Regions from separate parts of the Homo sapiens genome. Here region 2 is linked to region 1. Evidence: promoter capture Hi-C in human tissues and cell types (Jung and others, 2019). All regions are on one chromosome and are shown on one strand. The core of a region is centred on a gene start or on the middle of the fragment in contact, and the rest is flanking DNA. Distances in the headings are between cores, read along the strand shown. Region 1 holds the start of CAMSAP3 (calmodulin regulated spectrin associated protein family member 3). Region 2 holds the start of PEX11G (peroxisomal biogenesis factor 11 gamma).

The links. Contacts are between HindIII fragments. The study calls those that stand out against the background at their distance.
Region 2: a contact is called between the fragment with the promoter of PEX11G here and the fragment with the promoter of CAMSAP3 in region 1, in 1 of the 25 tissues and cell types used here (liver).

The regions. Positions count from the first base shown.
Region 1 is chr19:7,592,592-7,599,266 of GRCh38, forward strand. CAMSAP3 (calmodulin regulated spectrin associated protein family member 3) reads left to right here and starts at 3,272. Exons shown (of 17, transcript NM_020902.2): 1 at 3,272-3,559. The coding sequence starts at 3,412. RefSeq lists silencers at 708-908, 2,972-3,411 and an enhancer at 4,251-4,856. The HindIII fragment of the contact is 16,585 bases long and covers 1-6,675 here.
Region 2 is chr19:7,485,664-7,493,341 of GRCh38, forward strand. It overlaps PEX11G (peroxisomal biogenesis factor 11 gamma), which reads right to left and starts at 3,372. Exons shown (of 5, transcript NM_080662.4): 1 at 3,288-3,372; 2 at 175-363. The coding sequence starts at 3,347. RefSeq lists silencers at 3,119-3,178, 3,229-3,558, 7,080-7,374. The HindIII fragment of the contact is 14,364 bases long and covers 3,168-7,678 here.

The sequences.
Region 1 (6,675 bases), core at 2,022-4,521:
TGCCTGGCCGAAAGTAACACACTTTTCTTTCCAGGCCTGTAAAGAACGAACTCACACAAACACTTGTGCATTCACAATTATATACAGCTAAGAGGCATGCAGGGGATATTTTGACAAAAATACAATGGAGGGCCAAGCACAGTGGCACATGCCTGTAATCCCAGCACTTTGGGAGGCCGAGGTGGGAGGATCCCTTGAGCCTAGGAGTTTGAGATCAGCCTGGGCAATATAAGGAGATCCCATCTCTACACAAAACAAAAAATTAGCCAGGGATGGTGGCTGCAGTGAGCCATGATTGTGCCACTGCACTCAAGCCTGGGGTGACAGAGTGAGATCCTGTCCAAAAAAAAAATAAAACAACAACAACAAAACAAACAATAGAACAAAAGCAAATATTAAAATATTAAAAACATCCGGCTGGGCGCGGTGGCTCATGCCTGTAATCCCAGCACTTTGGGAGGCCGAGGCGGGTGGATCACCTGAGGTCAGGAGATCAAGACCATCCTGACTAACACAATGAAACCCCGTCTCTACTAAAAATACAAAATATTAGCTGGGCATGGTGGCCGGCGCCTGTAGTTCCAGCTACTGGGGAGGCTAAGGCAGGAGAATGGCGCGAACCCGGGAGGCGGAGCTTGCAGTGAGCTAAGATTGCACCACTGCACTCCAGCCTGGGTGACAGAGCGAGACTCGGTCTCAAAAAAAAAAAAAAAAACAAACAGAAAAAAAAAAACCAAAAATCCACAAATCGGTGCTTAGACCTTACAAATAAACACACAATTGCACTCATGTACACAAATATTTGTACTCAACGCGTTCACACACACTTCCATACTTACAGACACAATCAGATTCATACACAGAAATACATTTGCTTACACAGATATGAATTCCTAGATAAATATGCACATTTGAACTCTCACAAAAGCATTCAGACACAGGCATTCTTTTTTTTTTTTTTAATGTGACGGAGTCTCACTCTGTCGCCCATGCTGGAGTACAGTGGTGCAATCCTAGCTTGCTGCAACCTCTGCCTCCTGGGTTCAAGCGATTCTCCTGCCTCAGCCTCCCAAGTAGCTGCAATTATAGGTGTGGGCAACCACGCCCGGCTAACTTTTGTATTTTTAGTAGAGATGGGGTTTCACCATGTTGGCCAGGCTGGTTTTGAACTCCTGACCTCAGGTGATCCACCCGCCTCAGCCTCCCAAAGCACTGGGATTACAGGCATGAGCCACTGCACCCAGCAGAAACAGGCATTCTTGCACAGGTATACCTGCTTTCATGCCTACACAATCTGTCACAGGCACCCACCATATATTCAAATCCACAAAGATACTCACATATAAACACACATATATGCACAAAAATATAGTCAGGAACTGCTCATCATAAATCACACATCTGCTGGGCGCGGTGCCTCAAGCCTGTAATCCCAGCACTTCAGGAGGCCGAGTTGGGCGGATCACGAGGTCAGGAGATCGAGACCATCCTGGCTAACATGGTGAAACCCGGTCTCTACTTAAAAAAAAATACAAAAAACCAGCCGGGCGTGGTGGCGGGTGCCTGTAGTCCCAGCTACTCGGGAGGCTGAGGCAGGAGAATGGCATGAACCCAGGAGGCAGAGCTTGCAGTGAGCCAAGATCGCACCACTGCACTCCAGCCTGAGCGATAGAGCGAGACTCCGTCTCAAAAAATCAATCAATCAATCAATCACACATCCATGTGCATATAGCCAGATTCACATACTCAAATACAAACCCACTTAGACACACAGCCTCACCTCCACACAGAGCCTTCTCCCAGCACACACTGCAGATACCAGAATAATACACAAAGACACTTGCAAATACACCCAGTACAGCTACGCAAGGACACTCATAGACACAAATAGTCACACTCTTGCAGAAATATACACACTTTTTTTTTTTTTTTGAGACAGGGTCTCACTCTGTTGGCCAAGCTGGAGTGCAGTGGCACTATCTCAGCTTCTGCCTCCCTGGTTCAAGCGATTCTCCCGCCTCAGCCTCCCGAGTACTTGGGATTACAGGCATGCACCATTATGCCCGGCTAATTTTTAAAAATTTTATTTTTAGTAGAGACGGGGTTTTGCTATGTTGGCCAGGCTACTCTTGAACTCCTGGCCTCAAGTGATCTGCCCGCCTTGGCCTCCCAAAGTGCTGGGATTACACTCGTGGCCACCGCTCTCGGCCTGAAATACACACACTCTCAATGTCTCTCCATACTCCTGCATTGACAGAGGCATCAATAACAGCCTCATACAACACACCAGTACGTTCAGATGCACAGAGATAGACATACTCACAGCACTCCAAAAACACACACACAGCCGGGCACGGTGGCTGCCGCCTGTAATCCCAGCACTTTGGGAGGCTGAGGCGGGTGATCACCTGAGGTCAGGAGTTTGAGACTAGCCTGGCTAACATGGTGAAACCCCAACTCTACTAAAAATACAAAAATTAGCCGGGAGTGGTGGCGCAACCCCGTAATCCCAGCTACTCGGGAGGCTGAGGCAGGAGAATCGCTTGAGCCTGGGAGGCGGAGGTTGCAGTGAGTCGAGATCGCGCCACTGCACTCCAGCCTGGGAGACAGAGTGAGTGAGACCCTGTCTCAAAAACAAAAACAAAAACAAAAACAAAAAACAGACACACACTCATCACTTCCATCCATCCTCAGGATACAGACATCTATATAATACATATCCTTGTACACACAACAAATTAAACACACACTTACACGTGCCCAGATACATACCCCACACACACACACCCCTAGACACCCCCCAATACACTTGGTCACCACCCAAATGTATTCAGAGATACACAGATACGAAGACACTCATATTCTTGTGCCTTCACTAACATAATCAGAAACAGGTGCACCCAACCACTCTCTGCCTGAGGGCCGGCGTTTATTGCAAGCACTTGCAGGAGCTCCTACGCCTAAGGGTAGACACTGGGGCTGGCACACACAGAGGGTCCCTAATCCTTTCCAGTAAGCTAGGCGCGCGCGCACACACTCACACACGCGCGCGCGCACACATACACACTCAGTCCTCCGCAAGCTCCCTCCACCATCGCCGCAGTCCAGGCCGCCCCCCTCCGCCCCGCCCCTGCTGCTCCGTGCACACTGCAGTGAGGGGCCCGGGCGGGGCGCAGGGGCGCGCCAGGGTCCGGGTCCGGGTTCGGGGGCGGGGCGCACCTGGGCTCCTCCCCGGGGCGGGCCCGACGCAGCGTCGCCAGCGCAAGCGGCCGCACCTGGCTCAGCAGCGGCGGCGGCGGCGGCGGCGGCAGCGGCGGTAGCAGCAGCGGGCCCGGCTGGGGCGCGAGCGCGGCGCAGCCCAGCCCAGCCCAGTCCGAGCGCGGACCCGGCGCCCGCAGCCCCGGCGCCGCCATGGTGGAGGCGGCGCCCCCCGGGCCCGGGCCGCTGCGGAGGACCTTTCTAGTGCCCGAGATCAAGTCGCTGGACCAGTACGATTTCTCGCGGGCCAAGGCGGCGGCCAGCCTGGCGTGGGTGCTGCGGGCCGCGTTCGGGGGCGCAGGTACCGGGGCTCGGGGGACCGGGGTCGGGGGCGGCGGGCCGGGCGCGGCAGGTGCTGGGGGGGGGCGGGGCGCCGGGCCGGGAAGGCAGGGGGCCGTGGGAACAATAGCGCCGGCCGCCGGGGGTCCCCGGGCTCGGGCCCCTGCCGCGCCGGGGCCTCCGAGCTTCCTGCTCGGCCCGGGCGGTGGACTTTGCCCCGCCGGCTGCGGGAGCGCGGTGGGGGTGGGGCCCGCGGCCCAGCTCCGCGCGGGGGTCCCCGGCGTCCAAGCCTCCAGGTGAGCCGGGCGGGGTCTGCGGGCCGGGTGGGGTCTCCCCGTGCGGACCTCTCGTTCCCGCCTCCCGCACCCCCAAGGCCTTCCCTTGCACGCCTTCTTCTCTTTTACACACATCACGCCCCTGCGAGGATCTCCTCTCGGTCTCTTCCCCCGCCACACACCCTGGAGACCCAGACCCCGACCTCGCTGGGGGGTCTCGAGCGCTCCGGTCTCCACCACCGCACGACCCCCAGGCCCCAACACACACCCCGCGTCGGCCCTGGCCGCGCTGCGGGCGGCGACCGGGGAGCTCTGGGAACCCCCTTTCGCCTCCATAGCCCCCTCCAGCGCCTGGCAGCTGCGACTTATGGCCCCATTTTACTGGGGAGGTTGGCGAGCCCAGCTGAAGGGAAATGGGTAGTACAAGATCGCCTGGGGTGGGCCCCCCGCTCCTCCCGGCTGCGGGGCCTTCTCCCATTAGAGCAGATCCTTCACTCCCTCCCCCAGGCCCGCTTGCCTGAGAGCCCGAGCCACCCTAATGGGGAGGATGCCGTAATCCCGGGTCCCCGGGATTAGAGGCCCTGGAAACACTCAGTCTCGGCTTTGGGCAGCTTCACAACCCCAGGCCAGAGCTAGGAGTCAGGGCCTGGCCAGAGAAGACAGGGGTTAATTAAGGTCTGGGCTTTCCAGCGGGGAGCTGTGGGGGTACATCCTTTTCTCCCACTGGTTCTGCCCACTGGTGTTGGCACAGCCCATCCCCCCTCTCCCTGGCCTTCCCAGATCAACCTGTTCTGGGTGTGGGTCTCAGTGACAGCTGTCCGTCTCCTGGTTCCGCCCCAGCCTGTCCCTCTTTCTCCCAGACAGTCTCTGTCTGCGTCGTTCCATGCATGCATTTCCCACTCTGGGGTCTACCTCCCTGCAGATATTTGCTTGAGGAAGAAAGAGATTGGGCATTGGACAGCCAGGACAGCCCCAGCTCCTCACTTCCAAGGTTACCAGGCTGTAGAGAACTCAACGTGGAGTGTCAGAATTGAATGTGAAGTCCAGCTGCACCAGAATGCGAATTATCCCAATTATCTGAGCTTCTGTTTCCCCTTCTATAAAAGAAGGCGTTCATTCACAGACTTATCTGTTTTGCGAATGTTTGTGGGGCAGGGGCACTTGCTATGTGTAGGGCACTGCTCCAGTGATGGAGACCCCCCGTTACCTCTTTGCAAGGTTGCTGGGAGGCGTAAAAGCTGTAGTGACCACAGAATTCTTCGCGTGGCACGGGGCGCGTGATACATGCGAAACGGTTGCTCGCTGCTGGTGTGATTGGCGGTGGTATATTTTGATGAATAATATTAACGTTATCCATTATCCCCTGGCCAGGAATCAGAGTAGAAATTATCCCATTTTGAAGACAGCAAAGCAAACTTCTGATGAGGGGTGTTGGTGAGCTCCCAGTGCCCTGACTCACCCAGTTCTGTTCTTGTTGACCCAGCTCCCTCTGCTGTGTGACACACGGCAGTGGCTGCCTCTACCGTGAGGGTCAAGTTCAATCTGTTCCCTGTTCCACTCCCCTAAAAAGAGGAGAAGGGCTGAAGGAAATGGGAGCAGAGTTCTACAAGATTCATGAGCTCTGGGGACTCTTGACGGTATGATACCTATCAGGTGCTGGGCTGGGCGCTCAGGGTGTAGAGGAGACGGCAGGGGATGGATATGGGGCAGAGGGGGATGGGCAGGAAACCAGATCATAGGGAAGCTGGCCAGCGGGGCCTGGGGAAAGAAATTCTTGAAATCTTCCAGGGAGGGAAGAGATCCCACAGGTGGAAAGATTTGAGTCTGGAAGGATGCATGGAAGTTTGACACGGAGAAGAGATGTGTGGGCAGTGGGCAAAGGCTCGGAGTGTGGACCAGCAGGGAGTTCTCAGAGAATAAGATGCAGGTCCCCGGGGTGGCGGTGGGAGATAAGGGAGGCTGGTCAGACTGAGGAAGGCCCTTCAGGCCCCTGGTTATGGATCCAAGGGTACTGGGGAGCCACGGACAGTGTTGGGAACTGACAAGATCAGGTATGCAGTGGCCCCGTGGGAGTAGTGATGGCTCAGAGGAAGGGATAGTTCTGGCAACTCCAAGGCACAGGTGTGAGAAGGCTGTGCAGAAATAAAAGCAGAACACAAGCTTGGAGATTAGATAAGAAAGGGTTCCAAGCCTGGCCAACACGATGAATCCCCGTCTCTACTAAAAATCCAAAAATTAGCCGGGAATGATGGCACACGTCTGTAGTCCCAGCTACTTGGGAGGCTGAGGCAGGAGAATTGTTGAACCTGTGAGGCGGAGGTTGCAGTGAGCCGAGATTGCACCACTGCACTCCAGCCTGGGTGAAAGAGAGAGACTCTGTCTCAAAAAACAAAGGGTTCCATGTTAAACACATTTGGAAAACACCCCATGCAGTTCTTTATGCCTTCAGAACAGATGTGTGATGTGTGAGGGAAACTCAAGTTCATGTTGGACATTTTTATCCTGGACAAGTTATCTCAGCTCTCCAGGCCTTGGTTTTCTCATCTGTACAAGGGGTATAATAATAAGTGTCGTAAGGATTAAATGACTGGATGCAGGGAAGGTCATGGTATAAATAAATGGTTGGGTGTGGTGGCATGGGCTTGTAGTCCCAGCTACTCAGGAGGCTGAGGCAGGAGGATTGCCTGAGCCCAGGAGTTCCAGGGTACAGTCAGCTATGATCACGCCACTGCACTCCAGCCTGGGCAACAGAGTGAGATCCTGTCTCAATCAGCCTTCCATCCATCCATCCACCCATCCATCTACCCACTCATCCATCCATCCACCCACCCATTCATTCATCCATCCATCCACCCACCCACCT
Region 2 (7,678 bases), core at 2,122-4,621, 110 kb before region 1:
TTTTACCATGTTGGCCTGGCTGGTCTCGAACTCCTGACCTCATGATCCGCCAGCCTTGGCCTCACAAAGTGCTGGGATTACAAGCATGAGCCACTGTGAGGGGCCAAAAAATTTTTTAAAAAATGTCCACTCAGGTCCGCACCCTACTCCCTAGAGCCCCACAAACCCTGTTACCTGTGCCCCCAGGCCATATTGCTTAGTGTAGACAAACATGGCCAGGTCATCAAAGAGTCGCAAGATGGTCCTGCAGTGGCTGAGTTGGGTGGACACCACCAACAGACGTGTCCCCACTTCGGACCTGGCGGGACACTGTTCAACCAGAACTCCACCAACCAGCTGGCAGCAGTACCCCAGCACTCGGATCTGTGGGAAACCAGAAGCAGTCAGTGTGGCCCTCCTGTTCTGCAGAACTGAGCTGCATCCCCCCATACCTGGCCCCGGGCCCCGCTGGATTGAGAGTGTGGAAGATTCTCTTTTTTTTTTGAAAGAGTCTCACTCTGTCATCCAGACTGGAGTGCAGTGGCACGATCTCGGCTCACCGCAGCCTCCATCTCCCATGTTCAAGCAATTCTTGTGCCTCAGCCTCCCCAGTAGCTGGGATTACAGGCGCCCACCACCACACCCTGCTAATTTTTATATTTTTTGTAGAGACAGGGTTTCACCAGGTTGGCTAGGCTGGTCTCAAACTCATAACCTCAGTGATCCACCTGCCTTAGCCTCCCAAAGTGCTGGGATTACAGGCATGAGCCACCGTGCCTGACCCAAGAGTTTGGAAGATTCTAAATCTACAAAGTGACAGTAAAAGCTGAAAGTTTAGGTGGGGCACAGTGGCTCACACCTGTAACCCCAGCACTTTGAGAAACCGAGGTGAGAGGATGCCTTCACACCAGGAGTTTGAGACCAGCCTGGGCAACATAGCAAGACCCTGTGTCTACCAAAAAAATTTTTTTTTTTGAGACGGAGTCTTGCTCCGTCACCTAGGCTGGAGTGCGGTGGCGCGATCTCGGCTCACTGCAAGCTCCACCTCCCGGGTTCATGCGATTCTCCTGCCTCAGCCTCCCGAGTAGCTGGGACTACAGGCACCCGCCACCAAGCCCACCTAATTTTTTGTATTTTTAGTAGAGATGGGGTTTCACCATTTTAGCCAGGATGGTCTTGATCTCCTGACCTCATGATCCACCCGCCTCGGCCTCCCAAAGTGCTGGGATTACAGGCGTAAGCCACCGCGCCTGGCTACCAAAAATTTTTTTAAGTTAACAGGGCATGGTGGTTACTTGGGAGGCTGATGCTGGAGGATCACTTGAGCCCAGGAGTTCCAGACTGTAGTGAGCTGTAATCGTGCTACTACACTCCAGCCTGGGCAACAGGGCGAGACCCTGTCTAAAAAAAGAAAAAGAAAAAGAAAAAAAAAGCTGGAAGTTTAAAAACATACTTGGAGGTGGGACAAATGAAGAAACATGACATCATTGATGTAACTGAAGGGCACAGCCTTTGGGAACAGATGTGACAGGAACAAAGAAAACAAAGCTCCTTACTTCCCACCTCCTAGGTCCTTCTTTTCCCAGGTGGCAGGAAGCCACAGCTAAAGTGTATATTTACATCTACCTGCCTGGACCAAAGCCTTTGGATGTGCTGAATGGTGGGCACAGGTGATCAGGCCTCAACCCAGTGAACAACAGGATAATTTGGTAGAATTACTTTAGAGAGAAAGAACCTACTCAGTAGGTGATGTGGAGCCTTCTGAAATAGGTCATCTTCACTACTCAGATCTTTTTTCTTTTGGAGACAGAGTCTTGCTCTGCTCCCCAGGCTCGAGTGCAAAGGTGTGAGCTCACTGCAACCTCTGCATCCCAGGTTCAAGCAATTCTCCCGCCTCAGCCTTCCAAGTAGCTGGGACTACAGGCACGCACCACCACATCCGGCTAATTTTTGTATTTTAGTAGAGACGAGGTTTCATCACTTTTCCCAGGCTGGTCTCAAACTCCTGAGCTCAGACAATCCACCCAGCTCAGCCTCCCAAAGTGCTAGGATCACAGGCGCGAGCCACCACGCCTGGCCTCCCTTATATCTTTATTTTACCTGCTTTTCAGAAATTGCTTGTTCCTGTTGTTTTATTTATTTTTACTTGTAATTCCTTTCCAGCCCCATTATAATGGCAAAACACTGCAATCTGAATGTTCAACTCGGGGGAGATTTGTTAACCCACCCCCCCAATCATAAGATATTTGAATGGAATCTAAATGCCTAGCCACCAGTACACCGCCTGGTACAACCTGAATGTCTACCTATAAGAGACTGGTGGGGACAAGCTAAGAGTCCAGACTCAGGGGCATGGATGGCATAACCTAAATGTTCAACCATATGGGACTTGATTGGAACTAAAAACTGTCCAGCCATAGGGAGAGTCTTGCAATATCCTAAATCCCCACATGAGATTGTTTGGGACAACCCAGGGACCAACTACAGTGGCCCGGTCAGATCCTAAATGTCCAAACATGGGAATCTGTTTGGTATGTAAACGTCCAGCCAGGCTGGGTTGGCAGAGACGATCTAAATGACCAACTGGGGTTTTGTTGGAACCCATCGCTGCTTAGGCATGGCAGGGCCCAGGCCATGGCGTGTTCTTTGGTCTAGGTTGGCTGAAACAACCTAAATGCCCAACTATAGGGAATCTGGTTGGAAGTGAATGTCCAGCCACAGGGGAGCCCTGCAACATCCCAAATCCCAACACGAGATTGTTCAGGACAACTTCAGTGGCCTGGTCGGATCCAAAACGTCCAAACACGGGAATCTGGCCAGTGTGTCAATGTCCAGACAGGTTGGGTTGGCAGAAACTATCTAAATGTCCAACGCTGGCCAGACGCGGTGGCTCACGCCTGTAATCCCAGCACTTTGGGAGGCCGAGGCAGGTGGATCGCTTGAGGCCAGGAGATCGAGACCATCCTGGCTAACACGATGAAACTCCGTCTCTACTAAAAATACAAAAAAATAGCAGGGAGTGGTGGCGGGCGCCTGTAGTCCCAGCTACTCGGGAGTGCTGAGGCAGGAGAATCGCTTGAACCCGGGAAGCGGAGGCTGCAGTGAGCAGAGATCGCACCACTGCACTCCAGCCAAAATAAATAAATACATAAATGTCCAATGCTAGGGCACCGCATTTGAGCCTAGCTCGGACGGGGCCTCTGCGACGGAGTATCCTGGGCGACCCCGTCCCCTCTCTGGCCCGTTTCCCAGTCTCTGAGCTTGGGCCAAACTCTAGGACCTCCGGCCCCGGTCCGCCCCTGCCTCACCAGGCGGTCCCGGCCCCTGTACGACTCCAGCGCCGACGCCAGGCCGCTCAGCGACGCCATGGCAACTCCGTGACGTCACCGCGACGTCGGCGCGCCGCGCCAGGGGGCGGGGCCAGGCCGGGGTACCGGGAGCGCCCCAAAGGCTTGCGCGCAGGCGCGGCCGCAGGCCTTTGTCCCCCTGACCGGCTTTTTGTCCGCTGTAGGGGAGGGACAGAGTTTGCAGAGGTGGGGCCGACACGTGTGTGCTCTCCAGGCCTGCAGACCCTGGATCATCCTCGGAGTTTGCTGCATTCTGCCCCACGGCGGTTTGGCCAACTACCCACGCACAAAAAAATATATTTCTAAGTTTAACCAACTACCCACACGCTCCAAAAATATTCCAAGCAAAACCACCAACCTGTTCGCAGTGGTTCAAGGAGAGATTTTCCTTTTTAGTTTTTGTGCTTCACCTTTTCTGCACTGTCTGCCTGCCCGTAGTGAGCAGGAATGACTGCTGTAATATCACAACAAGGCATCTTTCGACGTTAAGGAAAGACGTTATCTTTGGACGTTAAGAATTGTTCTAGAATACATAAATAAAAAATAAAAATGCACAATTCAGTGACATTAGTACATGCACATGTTGGACAACCATCACCCCTTGCTAGTTTCGGGGTATTTTTATCACCCCCAAGAGAGACCCCCGTAGGAGACCAGCATATGCCCCTCTGAAATATGCGACCTTGGTGTAGGATTATTTTGAGCTGAGATCAATGAAGCTGATACCGGAAAAGCTCTCTGTTCTTCCCTGATTTGCCTCAAAGCAGGACCTAAAGGTACAAAGGTGCCCTCCTCCCCTCTCTACCAGGAAGGACAAAGGTTGATCACCAGGGACACCTTTAGACTCTTGTCTGGAGACGTCTTTTTTTTTTTTTTCTTTTTTTTTGAGACGGAGTCTTGCTCTGTCCCCAAAGCTAGAGTGCAGTAGCGCCATCTCTGCTCACTGCGTCCTCCGCTTCCCTGGTTCAAGCGATTCTCGTGCCTCAGCTTCCCAAGTAGCTGGGATCACAGCTGTGCACCACTGTGCCCGGCTAATTTTTGTATTTTTGGTAGAGTCGGGGTTTCACCACGTTGGCCAGGCTGTTCTCAAATTCCTGGCCTCAAGTGATCCGCCCGCCTCGGCCTCCCAAAGTGCTGGGATTACAAGCGTGAGCCACCGCACCCGGCCTCAATGTCCTTTTCCTTCGTCTTGTCACTTCTCCAAAAATTTGCTGCTATATGTTGAAGGTGCTATATAAGCAGGAGTTATATAAGCTATATAAGCCACCTCATTTCTCTTGGCATCTCCCATGTACACATAAGGTACACATGTTAATAAATTTGTTTTTCCCTTGTTAATTTTTTTTTTTTAGACGGAGCCTCGCTCTGTCGCCCAGGCTGGAGTGCAGTGGCACGATCTCGGCTCACTGCAAGCTCCGCCTCGCGGGTTCACGCCATTCTTCTGCCTCAGCCTCCCGAGTAGCTGGCACTACTACAGGCGCCCGCCACCACGCCTGGGTAATTTTTTTTTTTTTTTTTTTTTTGTATTTTTAGTAGAGACGGGGTTTCACCGTGTTAGCCAGGATGGTCTTGATCTCCTGACCTCGTGATCCGCCCGTCTCTGCCTCCCAAAGTGCTAGGATTACAGGCGTGAGCCACCGCGCCTGGCCTCTATTTTTTTTTTTTTTTTTTTTTTTTTTTTTTGAGACAGGGCCTCGCTCTGGGAGGAACCAAATTTGTAGATGTGAAGCCGCCACTTGTGTGCTCTCTGGGCCTGAGGACCCAGGATGATGCCCAGAGCTTGCTACATTCTGCCCCATGGTAGCTTGACCAACTACCCACAAAAAAGGGGTAGAGTGCAGCGGCACGATCTTAACTCACTGCAGCCTTGAACTCCTGGGATCAAGCCATCCTGCCACCTCAGCATCCTGAGTAGGTGGGACCACAGGTGCCTGCCACCACAATTGGCTAATTTCTTTTTATTTTTTATTTTTTGTAGAAATGGAGTCTTACCATGTTACCCAGGCTGGCCTTGAGCCCTGGGCTTAAGCAATCTTCCCACGTCGACCTTCCAAAGTGCTGGAATTACAGGCGTGAACCACCGCACCCGCCCTTCTTAATTCTTTCATTGCAAGGATCCATCACAGCTAAGAACTAAGAATAAAGGAAAAAGTATGTTTCCTCCCCTACACCCTGTTCCCATAAAGCAATCACTCAATTCCTCCCTCCTCCCAGCCCCTGGCAACCACTAATCTGCATTCTCTGCTGTCTCTCTGTATTTTTACCACTTCTTGATTTTTTTTTTTTTTTTTTTTTTTTGAGACAGAGTCTCACTCTGTCACCCAGACTGGAGTGCAGTGGCATGATCTCAGCTCACGGCAGCCTCCGCCTCCCAAGTTCAAGCAATTCTCCTGCCTCGGCCTCCCAAGTGGCTGAGAGTACAGGTGCGCACCACCACACCCGGCTAATTTTTGTATTTGTAGTAGAGATGGATTTTACCATGTTGGCCAGGCTGGTCTTGAACTCTTGACCTCAAGGGATCTGCCTGCCTCGACCTCCCAAAGTGCTGGGATTACAGGCATGAGCCACCATGCCCGACCTCCTTGATATTTCATACAAATGGAATCATACAATATGTGACCATTTGTGTCGGCCTCTTCCACCAAGCATAATAGGTTGTTTTGGTTTTTGCTTTTTGTTTTTGAGACAGGGTCTTGCTGTGTCACCAGGCTGGAGTGCGGTGGTGTGATCATAGCTCACTGCAGCCTTGAACTCCTGGGCCTGAGAGATCCTCCTGCCTCAGCCTCCACATTGCCTGGGACTACAGGTGCACGCCACCACATCTGGCCAATTTTTAAAATTTTTCTTTTGTAGAGATGCGGTCTCGCTATGTTCACCAGGCTGGTTTCGACCTCCTGGACTCAAGGGATCCTCCTGCCTTGGCCTCCCAAAGTGCTGGGATTACAGGTGTGAGCCACTGCGTGCAGCTGAGCATAATGGTGTTGAGGTTTGTCTAAGTTGCAGCATGTATCAGAAATTCATTCCACTTGCAGCTATATAACATTGCGCCATATGGATGGACCACATTTTGTTTATCCACGTATCAGCTGATGGTCATTTGGGCTGTTTCTGCCTTTTAGCGATCGTGAATAAGTACAGCTATAAACATTTGTGAATATGTAGTTGGAGTCCCTGGATTCCATTCCTTTGGGTCTATACCTAGAAGTGGGGTTGCTGGGTCATTTTGTAACTCTATGTTGAACTTTTTGAGTAATTGCCCAACTGTTTCCCACAGTAGCAGTACCATTTTCCATCCCCACCAGCATTACACAAAGGTTCCAATTTCGCCACTTCCTTGCAACATCCTTTTTTGATTATGATAGCCATCGTAGTAGGTGTGACGTGCCACCCCATTGTGGTTTTGTTTTGCCTTTTCCTGATGACTAATGATGTCAACGAGTCTGTTTGTTGGTTTGTTTGAATTTTTTTTTTTGAGACAGAGTGTCACTCTATTGCCTAGGCTGGAGTGCAGTGCTGATCTCAGCTCACTGCAACCTCCACCTCCCAGGTTCAAGCGATTCTCATGCCTCAGCCTCCCAAATAGCTGGGATTACAGCACACCCGCCACTGTGCCCGGCTAATTTTAGACTTTTAGTAGAGACGGGGTTTCGCCATGTTGGCCAGGCTGGTCTCCAACTCCTGATCTCAAGAAATCTGCCCACCTCGGCCTCCCAAAGTGCTGGGATTATAGGCGTGAGTCACCGCGTCTGGCCTCGATGTTAACCAGTTTTCTTTCACAGAATATTTCCTCTTGATTTCAACTCTTGTTACTCTTCTCCTGCATTGCTTTCCTCCTGTTGTTTAAAGTTACAGCAGATTCCTGCCTCAGGAACTTTGCATGTTCTGTTTCCTCTGCAGAAATGTTCTTGAGCCAGATACCAACGTGGCTCCCTCCTTCCCTAACTTCCTTTACTCGAATGTCATCCTCTCACGGGACCCACCCGATCACACCCTCCTGGACACTTCCTACCCATGTTACCTGCTGGTGACCTGTCTTGTTCATGGCTATATCCGCACAGCCTGGCAGAAAACAGAGAATCTGTTTTGTAAGTTTCACTGCCCTGTCCAAAGATCTCTTCTTGTGCTCCAAGGGAGCATGGAACACAAGGGGGCACAAGAAAGGCCTTGTCCACTCCTGTGATTTTCTTCCTCTCTGTCTCTCTCTCTTTCTGTTTTTGTTTTTAAACAGAGTCTCACTCGGTTGCCCAGGCTGGAGTGCAGTGGCATGATTTCGGCTCACTGCCATCTCCACCTCCCGGGTTCAAGCAATTCTCCTGCCTCAGCCTCCCAACCAGCTGGGATTACAGGCACCT